Regions from separate parts of the Homo sapiens genome. Here region 1 is linked to region 2. Evidence: promoter capture Hi-C in human tissues and cell types (Jung and others, 2019). All regions are on one chromosome and are shown on one strand. The core of a region is centred on a gene start or on the middle of the fragment in contact, and the rest is flanking DNA. Distances in the headings are between cores, read along the strand shown. Region 1 overlaps COG5 (component of oligomeric golgi complex 5). Region 2 holds the start of GPR22 (G protein-coupled receptor 22).

Region 1 (7,010 bases), core at 354-2,853, 43 kb before region 2:
CCCCTACCCTTTGTAGAATGTATATTCCAGTGGGTCCTAAGGACACCCATCTGGTGTATCTGTAAAAATCTGATTCTAAAGCCTGAGCTGGTAAACCACCAATGCTATACTCTTTTCTTAAACTCTGTGGCAGCATTTAATTGCTTCATAAAAGGGATTTCTGCTATTGGTAGGTCTCCCAGTGTCCTTTAAAAAAATCACATTATTATTGTACTTTCTAAGAATACTTTATACAAAATAGGTTTAAATGTATATTATAATTAAGTGAAAATGAGAAAATGACTTCTGATTGAGCTATAACCTCATAATAAACCAAAATATAAAATATGTGTGTGTGTGTGTGTGTGTGTGTGTGTGTGTGTGTGTGTAAAATAGGCCATGTTTATATAGAAAATGTATTTTATGTTAGGATTGTGGGTTGACTGTTGTTAGTAACTTAATATTCTATTTTAAAGCTTTATTGCATTATTGAAGAATCATTTTTTAAAAGTATAATCAAGCAATTGGATATGATAGAAAATATTTCCTCTACTAATTTTAATCGCTTATGGTCTATTTTCTGAGTTTTACATTTTTATTGCCTAGCTGCAATATATTAACACCACGTGTCATGAGAGAATATTCTTTTATTTTATTTTATTTTATTATTATTATACTTTAAGTTTTAGGGTACATGTGCACAATGTGCAGGTTTGTTACATATGTATACATGTGCCATGTTGGTGTGCTGCACCCATTAACTCGTCATTTAGCATTAGGTATATCTCCTAATGCTTTCCCTCCCCTCTTCCCCCACCCCACAACAGTCCCCGGAGTGTGATGTTCCCCTTCCTGTGTCCATGTGTTCTCATTGTTCAGTTCCCACCTATCAGTGAGAAGATATGGTGTTTGGTTTTTTGTCCTTGCAATAGTTTGCTGAGAATGATGGTTTCCAGCTTCATCCATGTCCCTACAAAGGACATGAACTCTTCATTTTTTATGGCTGCATAGTATTCCATGGTGTATATGTGCCACATTTTCTTAATCCAGTCTATCATTGTTGGACATTTGGGTTGGTTCCAAGTCTTTGCTATTGTGAATAGTGCCACAGTAAACATACGTGTGCATGTGTCTTTATAGCAGTGTGATTTATAATCCTTTGGGTATATACCCAGTAATGGGATGGCTGGGTCAAATGGTATTTCTAGTTCTAGATCCCTGAGGAATCGCCACACTGACTTGCACAATGGTGGAACTAGTTTACAGTCCCACCAACAGTGTAAAAGTGTTGCTATTTCTCCACATCCTCTCCAGCACCTGTTGTTTCCTGACTTTTTAATGATCGCCATTCTAACTGGTGTGAGATGGTATCTCATTGTGGTTTTGATTTGCATTTCTCTGATGGCCAGTGATGATGAGCATTTTTTCATGTGTCTTTTGGCTGCATAAATGTCTTCTTTTGAGAAGTGTCTGTTCATATCCTTTGCCCACTTTTTGATGGGGTTGTCTGTTTTTTTCTTGTAAATTTGTTTGAGTTCATTGTAGATTCTGGATATTAGCCCTTTGTCAGATGAGTAGGTTGCAAAAATTTTCTCCCATTTTGTAGGTTGCCTGTTCACTCTGATGGTAGTTTCTTTTGCTGTGTAGAAGCTCTTTAGTTTAATTAGATCCCATTTGTCAATTTTGTCTTTTGTTGCCATTGCTTTTGGTGTTTTAGACATGAAGTCCTTGCCCATGCCTATATCCTGAATGGTATTGCCTAGGTTTTCTTCTAGGGTTTTTATGGTTTTAGGTCTAACATGTAAGTCTTTAATCCATCTTGAATTAATTTTTGTATAAGGTGTAAGGAAGGGATCCAGTTTCAGCTTTCTACATATGGCTAGCCAGTTTTCCCAGCACCATTTATTAAATAGGGAATCCTTTCCCCATTGCTTGTTTTTGTCAGGTTTGTCAAAGATCAGATGGTTGTAGATATGCGGCATTATTTCTGAGGGCTCTGTTCTGTTCCATTGGTCTATACCTCTGTTTTGGTACCAGTACCATGCTGCTTTGGTTACTGTAGCCTTGTAGTATAGTTTGAAGTCAGGTAGCATGATGCCTCCAGCTTTGTTCTTTTGGCTTAGGATTGACTTGGCAATGTGGGCTCTTTTTTGGTTCCATATGAAGTTTAAAGTAGTTTTTTCCAATTCTGTGAAGAAAGTCATTGGTAGCTTGATGGGGATGGCATTGAATCTATAAATTACCTTGGGCAGTATGGCCATTTTCACGATATTGATTCTTCCTACCCATGAGCATGGAATGTTCTTCCATTTGTTTGTGTCCTCTTTTATTTCACTGAGCAGTGGCTTGTAGTTCTCCTTGAAGAGGTCCTTCACATCCCTTGTAAGTTAGATTCCTAGGTATTTTATTCTCTTTGAAGCAATTGTGAATGGGAGTTCACTCATGATTTGGCTCTCTGTTTGTCTGTTATTGGTGTATAAGGATGCTTGTGATTTTTGCACATTGATTTTGTATCCTGAGACTTTGCTGAAGTTGCTTATCAGCTTAAGGTGATTTTGGGCTGAGACAGTGGGGTTTTCTAGATATACAATCATGTCATCTGCAAACAGGGACAATTTGGCTTCCTATTTTCCTAATTGAATACCCTTTATTTCCTTCTCCTGCCTAATTGCCCTGGCCAGAACTTCCAACACTATGTTGAATAGGAGTGGTGAGAGAGGGCATCCCTGTCTTGTGCCAGCTTTCAAAGGGAATGCTTCCAGTTTTTGCCCATTCTGTATGATATTGGCTGTGGATGTGTCATAGATAGCTCTTATTATTTTGAGATATGTCCCATCAATACCTAATTTATTGAGAGTTTTTAGCATGAAGTGTTGTTGAATTTTGTCAAAGGCCTTTTCTGCATCTATTGAGATAATCGTGTGGTTTTTGTCTTTGGTTCTGTTTATATGCTGGATTACATTTATTGATTTTCATATGTTAAACCAGCCTTGCATCCCAGGGATGAAGCCCACTTGATCATGGTAGATAAGCTTTTTGATGTGCTGCTGGATTCGGTTTGCCAGTATTGTATTGAGGATTTTTGCATCAGCGTTCATCAAGGATATTGGTCTAAAACTCTCTTTTTTTGTTGTGTCTCTGCCAGGCTTTGGTATCAGGATGATGCTGGCCTCATAAAGTGAGTTAGGGAGGATTCCCTCTTTTTCTATTGATTGGAATAGTTTCAGAAGGAATGGTACCAGCTCCTCCTTGTACGTCTGGTAGAATTTGGCTGTGAATCCATCTGCTCCTGGACTTTTTTTGGTTGGTAAGCTATTGATTATTGCCACAATTTCAGAGTCTGTTATTGGTCTATTCAGAGATTCAACTTCTTCCTGTTTTAGTCTTGGGATGGTGTATGTGTCGAGGAATTTATCCATTTCTTCTAGATTGTCTAGTTTATTTGCGTAGAGGTGTTTGTAGTATTCTGTGATGGTAGTTTGTATTTCTGTGGGATCGGTGGTGATATCCCCTTTATCATTTTTTATTGCATCTATTTGATTCTTCTCTCTTTTCTTCTTTATTAGTCTTGCTAGCAGTCTATCAGTTTTGTTGATCTTTTCAAAAAACCAGCTCCTGGATTCATTAATTTTTTGAACGGTATTTTGTGTCTCTATTTCCTTCAGTTCTGCTCTGATTTTAGTTATTTCTTGCCTTCTGCTAGCTTTTGAATGTGTTTGCTCTTGCTTTTCTAGTTCTTTTAATTGTGACGTTAGGGTGTCAATTTTGGATCTTTCCTGCTTTCTCTTGTGGGCATTTAGTGCTATAAATTTCCCTCTACACACTGCTTTGAATGTGTGCCAGAGATACTGGTATGTTGTGTCTTTGTTTCCGTTGGTTTCAGAGAACATCTTTATTTCTGCCTTCATTTCGTTATGTACCCAGTAGTCATTCTGGAGCAGGTTGTTCAGTTTCCATGTAGTGGAGCGGTTTTGAGTGAGTTTCTTAATCCTGAGTTCTAGTTTGATTGCACTGTGGTCTGAGAGACAGTTTGTTATAATTTCTGTTTACATTTGCTGAGGAGTGCTTTACTTCCAGCTATGTGGTCAATTTTGGAATAGGTGTGGTGTGGTGCTGAAAAGAATGTATATTCTGTTGATTTAGGGTGGAGAGTTCTGTAGATGTCTATTAGGTCCGCTTGGTGCAGAGCTGAGTTCAATTCCTGGGTATCCTTTTTAACTTTCTGTCTCGTTGATCTGTCTAATGTTGACAGTGGGTTGTTAAAGTCTCCCGTTATTATTGTGTAGGAGTCTAAGTCTCTTTGTAGGTCACTAAGGACTTGCTTTATGAATCTGGGTTGTCCTGTATTAGGTGCATATACATTTAGGATAGTTAGCTCTTCTTGTTGAATTGATCCCTTTACCATTATGTAATGGCCTTCTTTGTCTCTTTTGATCTTTGTTGGTTTAAAGTCTGTTTTATCAGAGACTAGGATTGCAACCCCTGCCTTTTTTTGTTTTCCATTTGCTTGGTAGATCTTCCTCCATCCCTTTATTTTGAGCCTATGTGTGTCTCTGCACGTGAGATGGGTTTCCTGAATACAGCACACTGATGGGTCTTGACTCTATCCAGTTTGTCAGTCTGTGTCTTTTAATTGGAGCATTTAGCCCATTTACATTTAAGGTTAATATTGTTATGTGTGTATTTGGTCTTGTCATTATGATGTTAGCTGGTTATTTTGCTCGTTAGTTGATGCAGTTTCTTCCTAGCCTTGATGGTCTTTACATTTTGTCATGTTTTTGCAGTGGCTGGTACCGGTTGTTCCTTTCCATGTTTAGTGCTTCTTTCAGGAGCTCTTTTAGGGCAGGCCTGGTGGTGACAAAATCTCTCAGCATTTGCTTGTCTGTAAAGGATTTTATTTCCCCTTCACTTATGAAGCTTAGTTTGGCTGGATATGAAAATTCTGGGTTGAAAATTCTTTTCTTTAAGAATGTTGAATATTGGTCCCCACTCTCTTCTGGCTTGTAGAGTTTCTGCCGAGAGATCCGCTGTTAGTCTGATGGGCTTCCCTTTGTGGGTAACCCGACCTTTCTCTCTGGCTGCCCTTAACATTTTGTCCTTCATTTCAACTTTGGTGAATCTGACAATTACGTGTGTTGGAGTTGCTCTTCTCGAGGAGCATCTTTGTGGCGTTCTCTGTATTTCCTGAATCTGAATGTTGGCCTGCCTTGCTAGATTGGGGAAGTTCTCCTGGATAATATCCTGCAGAGTGTTTTCCAACTTGGTTCCATTCTCCCCATCACTTTCAGGTACACCAATCAGACGTAGACTTGGTCTTTTCACATAGTCCCATATTTCTTGGAGGCTTTGTTCATTTCTTTTTATTCTTTTTTTCTCTAAACTTCCCTTCTCGCTTCAGTTCATTCATTTCGTCTTCCATCACTGGTACCCTTTCTTCCAGTTGATCGCATCAGCTCCCGAGGCTTCTGCATTCTTCACGTAGTTCTTGAGCCTTGGCTTTCAGCTACCTCAGCTCCTTTAAGGACTTCTCTGCATTGGTTATTCTAGTTAGCCATTCGTCTACTTTTTTTTCAAGGTTTTTAACTTCTTTGCCATTGGTTCGAACTTTCTCCTTTAGCTCAGAGTAGTTTGATCTTCTGAAGCCTTCTTCTCTCAACACGTCAAAGTCATTCTCCTTCCAGCTTTGTTCCATTGCTGGTGAGGAGCTGCGTTCCTTTGGAGGAGGAGAGGCGCTCTGATTTTTAGGGTTTCCAGTGTTTCTGCTTTGTTTTTTTCCCATCTTTGTGGCTTTATCTACTTTTGGTCTTTGATGTTGGTGATGTACAGAAGGGTTTTTGGTGTGGATGTCCTTTCTGTTTGGTAGTTTTCCTTTTAACAGACAGGACCCTCTGCTACAGGTCTGTTGGAGTTTGCTAGAGGTCCACTCCAGACCCTGTTTGCCTGGGTATCAGCAGCGGTGGCTGCAGAACAGCGGTGGCTGTAGAACAGTGGATGTTGGTGAACCGCAAATGCTGCTGCCTGATCGTTCCTCTGGAAGTTTTGTCTCAGAGGAGTACCCGGCCGTGTAAGGTGTCAGTGTGCCCCTACTGGGGGGTGCCTCCCAGTTAGGCTGCTCGGGGGTCACGGACCCACTTGAGGAGGCAGTCTGCCCATTCTCAGATCTCCAGCTGCGTAGTGGAAGAACCACTACTCTCTTCAAAGCTGTCAGACAGGGACCTTTAAGTCTGCAGAGGTTACTGCTGTCTTTTTGTTTGTCTGTGCCCTGCCCCCAGAGGTGGAGCCTACAGAGGCAGGCAGGCCTCCTTGAGCTGTGGTGGGCTCCACCCAGTTGGAGCTTCGGGGCTGCTTTGTTTACCTAATCAAGCCTGGGCAATGGCAGGCGCCCCTCCCCCAGCCTTGCTGCTGCCTTGCAGTTTGATCTCAGACTGCTGTGCTAGCAATCAGCGAGACTCTGTGGGCATAGGACCCTCCGAGCCAGGTGCGGGATATAATCCCCTGGTGTGCCGTTTTTTTAAGCCCATTGGAAAAGTGCAGTATTAGGGTGGGAGTTACCCGATTTTCCAGGTGCCTTCTGTCACCCCTTTCTTTGACTAGGAAAGGGAACTCCCTGACCCCTTGCTCTTCCCGAGTGAGGCAATGCCTCGCCCTGCTTCGGCTCGTGCATGGTGCGTTGCACCCACTGTCTTGCACCCACTGTCTGGCACTCTCTAGTGAGATGAACGCGATACCTCAGATGGAAATGCAGAAATCACCCGTCTTCTGCGTCGCTCACGCTGGGAGCTGTTCCTGTTCAGCCATCTTAGCTCCACCCACCCCATGAGAGAATATTCTTAAAACCAAATACGTCATAGAAGCATTATGATACATTTATTGTGGAAGAGAGGGGTAGTTTAAACTTGTTTCATCCACTGATGTTCTTATTGTAGCTATGATATTTCTTAATCTGATAAAACAATACTTATAGGCAAACGTTTCTCACTTATGTATAGATGAAAGTATGATTTATATAACCTTGCCATACAATAGGGACC
Region 2 (7,508 bases), core at 968-3,467:
TTCATGTCTTGTAGGAATTCTTTCGTTTTCTCTCCAATACTTCAACTGCATGCATTATGAGATTTAGTTGGCTGATGGATTTCTAAAGAACAGTACATAATATTTGTATTTGTTTTGCTTTAAAAAGTCACGGCCAAGAGGAATTTCCTCAGATGATAGGAATTATGTTTCCCTTTGATGGAGTACATGATAATATTTCTTTATTTTCCAGAATATGTGAAAACAAAAAAGGAAACATAACGTTTGTAGCTTCTAAAATATATTTAGACATCCTTTTGTTACCATTGTAAATCTGTTTTTAATAGCAGTGCTCACTATTTTGAAATGATTTCTTGATCACATAACTTGCTTTATATTATAAATCCAGGCCATGTCCTTTTGATAAAAACCATCTGCTGTTTAATTTTGTTTGTTTTCATTAGAAGAGGATACATAATTGGTCATAAAAGTCAGATAGAAAAATCCATTAGTCATACCAATTGATATGAATATCTGAATATTTAGTGCAGAAAACACTTCCTAAATCTTCCTTTTGTGTGCTGATAAAGTATTTTCTTTTCTTTTTGGAAATTCATGTTTCATTATGTCTTCCAGAATCAGTAACTTCCACAATTCTGGTATATGAAAGTATAAACTTCCCCTTTTAAAAATTCTTTTCAGGCTTTTACAGTTATATTGTTTTTCTTTTTGTGGTTATTTTATGTAGCATCTTCTTAGGATACAGTTGATTTTTTATATTCCATCAGTAATGTAGACCTATTCCCTGGTTTTAACTCCTTAATGTCTTAAAGTCGTGTTACAAGAACATCTTGCAGTTCGTAGTTCAGACAGCTAGGGAGATGCTCAGTCAATTGCATTCTTCATATTGTCAGTTGTAAATACTGAATTAGCTGCTATTGGCCCTTGTGAAAAGAAGAAAATTGGTTAAGAAATAGGGTTTTTAATAATTTGTAATTAATTGCAAGTTACTTTAGTTTTGTTTAAAAACTATCCAGTATTTGTTATCAAAATAACCAAACTGTTATTATTAGAGCCACAGCTATATGCATAAAATTGTTTCTTTAAATAAGTCTTTTTTCCTAATAAAGATTGTATATATTATGTTATTTAACAATAGAGTTCACATTTCAAATACAATTGTGAGAGAAAAGCTATATTTTTTAAAACTAATTTCTGCTCTCATTTTAGAAGCTAACCTGTATTTTCAGAGATGATGAACAATTAGCATACACTAAACATACTGTTATTTCTTCTTTGTAATAAATTTAACAACATTTTTTGCTCTAAAAATATTGTAACTTGCCTAATTATTAGCACATGGTTTGAATTTTAACTCATTAAAACAGATTTCATAAGATACTATAAATTTCCATTGATGAATTGTTCATGTGGTTGAAATACAAAAGGTAATAAAAATTGTAACTGCAAATTAATTTTCAGTGAACATGCCAAATAATAAACTTAACATAAAATTAAGTAATAAGTAACAGCAAAATAGTAAACCTAGTTCTTTTAAGAAACAGAAGCATTTTTGAAACACTGGAGAAAAACTGTACTGATTACATTAAGAATATTTAGTATATCTGAAGTGACTCAAAAGCTGTCTTCATAATGAATTTACAAAGAATATTTGTATTTAACAATGCATCCTAAAAAATTACATTTAAAATGTAGCATGTCTTAAAAGAAATAGATCTTAAAATACATGTCTAGCAATAAGTAGAATTAAACAAACTCTTAAAATTTAGGCTGAAATTTTTCAAAGTAATTTTTACCCCACTATGCCGGTTCAAAAGCAGCTGTATACTATAATAGGAACAAATCTTACCTCTGCTAAAGATTTGATAAATTCTTGATGTAGTTGAAGCATTTCCAGTTTGGATTGATTCATTTTGTTCACTTGTTAGTAGAGGACTGGGGGAAGAGGGTCATAAACATCTCTTCGAAAATGACCTTAATGAAAATATGTGTCTGTAGTGTGCCATTGTTTCAGCAGTACTGCTAATGTATGGAACATGTAGTGCTGCTTAGAGGCTGCTGCAGTCTCTCACTCTTCCTACTGTGGAATCAATAAGCATCTGAAAATACATAATGAAAGTAATTTAACATACTGAAGGCTTCTTGTCTCCAGAGACAACATTTAGATTCAGTCTTTCTAAAAAGGAACGGCACTGCTTTTCAGAGGAAAGCCTGTTCGGGCAGCTTTTGCAGAATGACAGCCTACCTTGTCGCTTCTCTCCACTGCAGAGAGATGCAGTGTATTCACTAATTTTGATTGGTCAGTTGTATTGGGCTTAAACTGTGCTTCATATGTATAGCAGGGATTTCCCCCGCTCCCCACTGTTTTATATAAAGGACACTTTTAAAAAGGCTAAATTTATGAGTGGTTGTATGTTGTTCTTAAATAGAATATGTGTAAATTAGTATTTTAAAAATGTGTATTCTATTCTGGTTTGTTGGTCACTTATGCCAAACATTAAAAAAAAATGCAGGGAGGTGGGGGAACAGGAAAGAATTACATAGTAAAAAGTATATATGCTTTCTAAAGCCTTGATAATTGCATTTGAGAATATTTTAGTCATATATAGGTTTTTGATTGAGATTCTTTGTTCTACAAATAGAAACCCACTGCATCTTTACTGTGAGCCACAGTGAATTTTAAATAGTTTGTTTGTATTCAAGTCATCTTCTCTGGGTATTCCAAATTGTTGTGAGCATCTCAAGGTGTTAAACATTGTCATGACTTCAGTATTCATTCATTTGGGTATTCATTCATTTCATTCATTCATTCATTCAAAATAATAATCAGATTGACCTAAGGTGATAATACCCTAAAATATTTTTTAAACATTTCATTATAGTAGCTTAGTCTCGGGTATAAAACTTCAATCAGTAATCATTGTATTACTTTTGGAGATTACTACTTGGTCTTCACCTTTCATAACCCTTTTATTTGGTAGATGTATACTGATCATTTGCTATAATATTTTATTTCAATTGGCTTATTCTATTTTTGACCTGGGCACATTTCTTAGTAGATTGCTGTTTCTTAAATATGATATGTAGCTACACGCTAATATTGTTAGTAAAATATTATTTTAAAGGATAAAGTAAGTTACATGTCTTTATAAGTTATAAAGCCAAATCATTATAAGATAGATACATTTTCAAAATGAAAATAATGGTACAAGTACTGAATATTTAAAATTAAATATTTAAATATTTAAATTAAAAATTTTAAATTAAATTAAATTTAAATTAAATTTAATATTAAAAATAAAATTAAAATATTTAAAATTAAATTTCTGTTAATTTTAGTTACCTATAAATAAGTTCCTGTTTTTAATGATGAGGATAAATTTCTTTTAGACTTAAGTAGATAAAACAGCTGGACTCTGTTGACAAAATAGAGGACATTACATGTGGCTAAACTGTTAGAATGTTAATTATCACCTGTTTCCATTATTTTAGGAATATTTAGTGACCTTCATTTTTCAAAATGTATACTGGTTTTTATTTGCAATTGGAACTATTCTCTTATTATTTGAAAAGCCGTATGCATTTTTATAATCTTCCACTGGTAGTGTTGAATCTTTATAGGGGAATAGCTGACCAATATGAGTTGTGAGTTGCATTTCTATAGAAGTTGAGAGTAATATGGTGGAAAATTTTGTTGTGAATTTCTAAAATCTTCTGCACAGCTTTGGGTGGCAAGGCTTTGGTAATTCTAAAAATGAAAATGTTGTGCTGCTATTCATGCGTTTTGAAAGTTGGGGAAAAGGATCTTGCTAGAATGCCAGCCATTTATAAAGAAAACTTACACACACCGAAACACACACACACACACACACACCACAGCACACACATTCATTTAAGCTTAAAACTAAGACCAGAGAAAGCATAGCATCAGTGGAAATATGTGATGGGGATGAGGAGATTATTAACACAGCAGAGTGCTTTTCTGCCAGAGTTCAAGTATTTGCTTATGTTTATCATCAGAATATCCCCATGAAGTAGAAGAAACAAAGGTACAGAGAAATTTACTGACTTGAAAGGGTCAAGGTAAGTTAGCAGCAGAGTCAATGTTAAAACTGCAAACCACGCTGTACTAGGCGGTTGGCCTTCTCTCTTTGGAAAATTATGAAGGTCTTGGGACTTAGAATTGGATAATCTAGATTTAGTTGCTATTTATTACCTATATAACTTTTGGCAAGTCAAACATCCTTTGGGTCAACTTTGATTCCTTTTGTTGAAGTATATTTTTGTGCTTTGTTTAACTCTTTGTGAGACAGTGTTTTCAAGTTATATTCAGATTATTTCAAAAAAACAAAATCTGGGGTTTCTGAGCCATAATGGTAGCTCGAGCACAGACAGTGCTCTTTATTTTCTGTATGAGTAACTTGTCTCCAAGGATAAATAAGATATCACAAACTTTTTTTATTGTGTACAGTGCTTAGTATAATTTTATTTCCTTTTTAAAAACCACAAATTGGTGATTAACAAGGTATGCCGAAATCTTAACAAGGTAATTCCAACTTCCCCTGTTTTTAACAAATATGCAAATATCTCAACTACTGATTGAGAATCAGATTATATTATTTTCATGAAAAAAATTAATTACAGACCGGGTGCAGTGGCTCTCACCTGTAATCCCAGCACTTTGGGAGGCTGAGGCGGGTGGATCACTTGAGGTCAGGAGTTCGAGACCAGTCTGGCCAACATGGTGAAACCCTGTCTCTACAAAAAATACAAAAATTAGGCATGGTGGCACAAGCCTCTAGTCCAGCTCCTCGCGAGGTTGAGGAATGAGAATCGCTTGAACCTGGGTGGCAGAGATTGCAGTGAGCTGCGATTGCACCGCTACCCCTCCAGCCTGGGCAACAAGGTGAGACTAGGTCTCAAAAAAAAAATAATAATAATTTCAGATTATCAATTTATGAAGATCCTTGTTTCCGTAGTAACACTCACACTTGTGCATTTAATATATTTTGTGCAATTAATATAACCTTTATATACTAACCTAGGAGAGCAGTTTGACTTCCTAATAATAACTAAGCACTAGATATGATTCTAACCCCAAAATACAGCTCAATTAAAATCCTTTTTTAAAAGTCGTGCTTTTCTTTTTAGTTATAAATATTTTAATTGCATATCTGTTTTAATTCCTCCTATGGGAAGTCTCTAACTAATTTTATGTATTTGTTTTCTTAAATTTTGACAACCGTGACTATGACAGAGTAATTTATTGTATATTTACATTGTACTATTCATATCAAATCATTCTTACCCAGCTTGTGGCTAGTTCTGATGCCACAGTTTTGAAGATTCTCTGAGTTTGTAAATAAAAACTCAGCTTTGTGAAATATTGGAATTCACCATAACTGAAAGTACTTTGAAACAATTTTAAGGTATCTATGTACAAACAATTTTTAATTGCTGAAAATCAGTTTTAAGCTGTATTGCGACAAGGGTCCTTTTTCAGTGGATACTTAGCGTAGTAAACCTTGAACTCTCTCTGATACTGGAGCCCATAGAAAAAAGGTTTATTTTGCTTTAATGCCAATTCAGAGATTTTATTTGGCTTCTCAACTTTACATTTCTTTCACAACAAATACTTTATCAGAAAAATAGAAATGGACCATCTGCTGAACTTCCATCAAGTGGGGAGTAGCAGAAGTCGTAGAGAATCAACAACATTGGTGATTCATTTTCTATATGAGAATAACTGAATACTGATTATATTTGATAAAGCACATGCATCAGAATTGCATACACTTAACAGATAGAAAATCCAAAGCCATTCTTTCCCATCCTTCCCTACTTCACCTAAATTGGGCATTTACGTTTTTTTCATTTTTATTTTTCACACTGTGTTTGTAAGTCATTTGCCAGTATCACATACATTATAAAAGTAAATACATGGCATTTCTTGCCATTTTTCCATCCATACCTACACTTTGGATCCTGTGACTATTATTACAATTTATCCTCCCTCTGTTGCACAACTGTTGGCATGTCTACTTTGGGGCTTTGTCCAAATTATTACCTTCATGTCCAGTTTTCTGGTTTACTGTTTTGACTGCTTACTATCCCTCTTTGCCTTCCTAAATATTATGGATTTTATTGATGTTTTTCTCTTATATTTTCATCAAGGAACTACACAAATAGCCATGTTTGTGCTCCATCACCCCATTGATTTCTCTTTTCTCTTGCTTCCTTTTTTTCTTTGCATAATTCTCTTACTCTTAAGTTATGCAGAATCAAATTAATTTTGTGTCCTGAGGCCAAGTCCATTGATCAACTAGATTACATATTTAACAAAGCTGTGTCAAGTCCCCTGTTTTGTGCTGTTATGACTCTTATGCTGTGCTGGGGGACATAGCTGACTGTCTACAATCTAGTGCTCTGTTATTGATACTAGTTAGATACATAACATTTTTGTAAGAAGGCTGCCATTCTTTATATAAAGAGCCTGAGAATGGCAGAGTTTTACTATAGGCTGTAGTTCTACTATAAACTCAGTAACATCCACTATACTACTTGAGTCATCCATTTGGGAAAATGAATGCATTTTAAGAGTTTAATTAATAATTCTTAAAGACTGTAATCACTGGTGTCTTTCTGCCAGGTATATTCAGCAGTGTTTCTTCAGTTACTCCTACCTTCTGATCTCTGTTTAGGGGTGCAATATCTATAAAAAGTCCTGCTGTTATTTTGATTGGTATTGCAGAGAATCTGTAGATCAGTTTGGAAAGAAATGACATCTTAACAGTATTGAGTCTTCTAACTTATGAACATAGTATCTCTACTATTTTTAGGGCATTTTACATTTATTTCGTCAATATTTTGTAGTTCTTGGCCTACAGATCCTGCACATATTTTGTTAGATTTGTATTTAATTATTTCTTCAGTACTGTTGAAGTAGCACCTAATTTTTTAAAAAAATCCAATTGTTTATTGTTAGTATATGTAATTAGGATCATATTGAACTCATATCCTGCAACTTTACTAAATTCATATATTAGTCTTGGGAGTTTTTTGTGTGAATTCCATGGTATTTTCTATATAGACAATTGTCTGCAAATAGAGATAGTTTACTTTTTCCTGAAACATGTGAGACTTACTTATATTCTTGCCTTCTTGTACTGCCTAGGACCTCTGGTATTAGGTTGAATGGGAGTGTGTTGGGAGAAACAATCCCCATAAGCCCTGAATATCCCTGAACATTCTTGCCGGATATGCTGAGAATGCAAAGCCCTAACAGAACTACCCTTTACTCCATCCATTTCTCAGGAAGGGGTTGTAGCTAGCAACCTTGAGGAATGAAGTAATGACACCCTAGACAAATAGAATGCAAGCAGACTTGCTTTTCTTTGTTATAAAAATGGCAACTTTCCCAAGCTCAGTGCTCTTCAGCTGTGAAAAAACCCGTAGTATACAGAGCATCCACAGTCCCTTTGCCAGGGACTTGGAGGGCAAGGTGAATTTTCACTGATATCATGCTCATA

The links. Contacts are between HindIII fragments. The study calls those that stand out against the background at their distance.
Region 1: a fragment that was not itself captured here is called in contact with the fragment with the promoter of GPR22 in region 2 in 1 of the 25 tissues and cell types used here (IMR-90 fibroblasts).

What each region holds. Positions count from the first base shown.
Region 1 is chr7:107,507,688-107,514,697 of GRCh38, reverse strand. The region is part of intron 6 of COG5 (component of oligomeric golgi complex 5); the gene reads left to right. Among named protein-coding and RNA genes, the nearest start is that of GPR22, 41 kb to the right of the region's middle. RefSeq lists enhancers at 5,753-6,252, 6,253-6,754. The HindIII fragment of the contact is 4,703 bases long and covers 1-3,954 here.
Region 2 is chr7:107,464,766-107,472,273 of GRCh38, reverse strand. It overlaps GPR22 (G protein-coupled receptor 22), which reads right to left and starts at 2,217. Exons shown (of 3, transcript NM_005295.3): 1 at 1,829-2,217; 2 at 1-902. All of the region lies in intron 6 of COG5 (component of oligomeric golgi complex 5), which reads left to right. The HindIII fragment of the contact is 7,138 bases long and covers 1-5,870 here.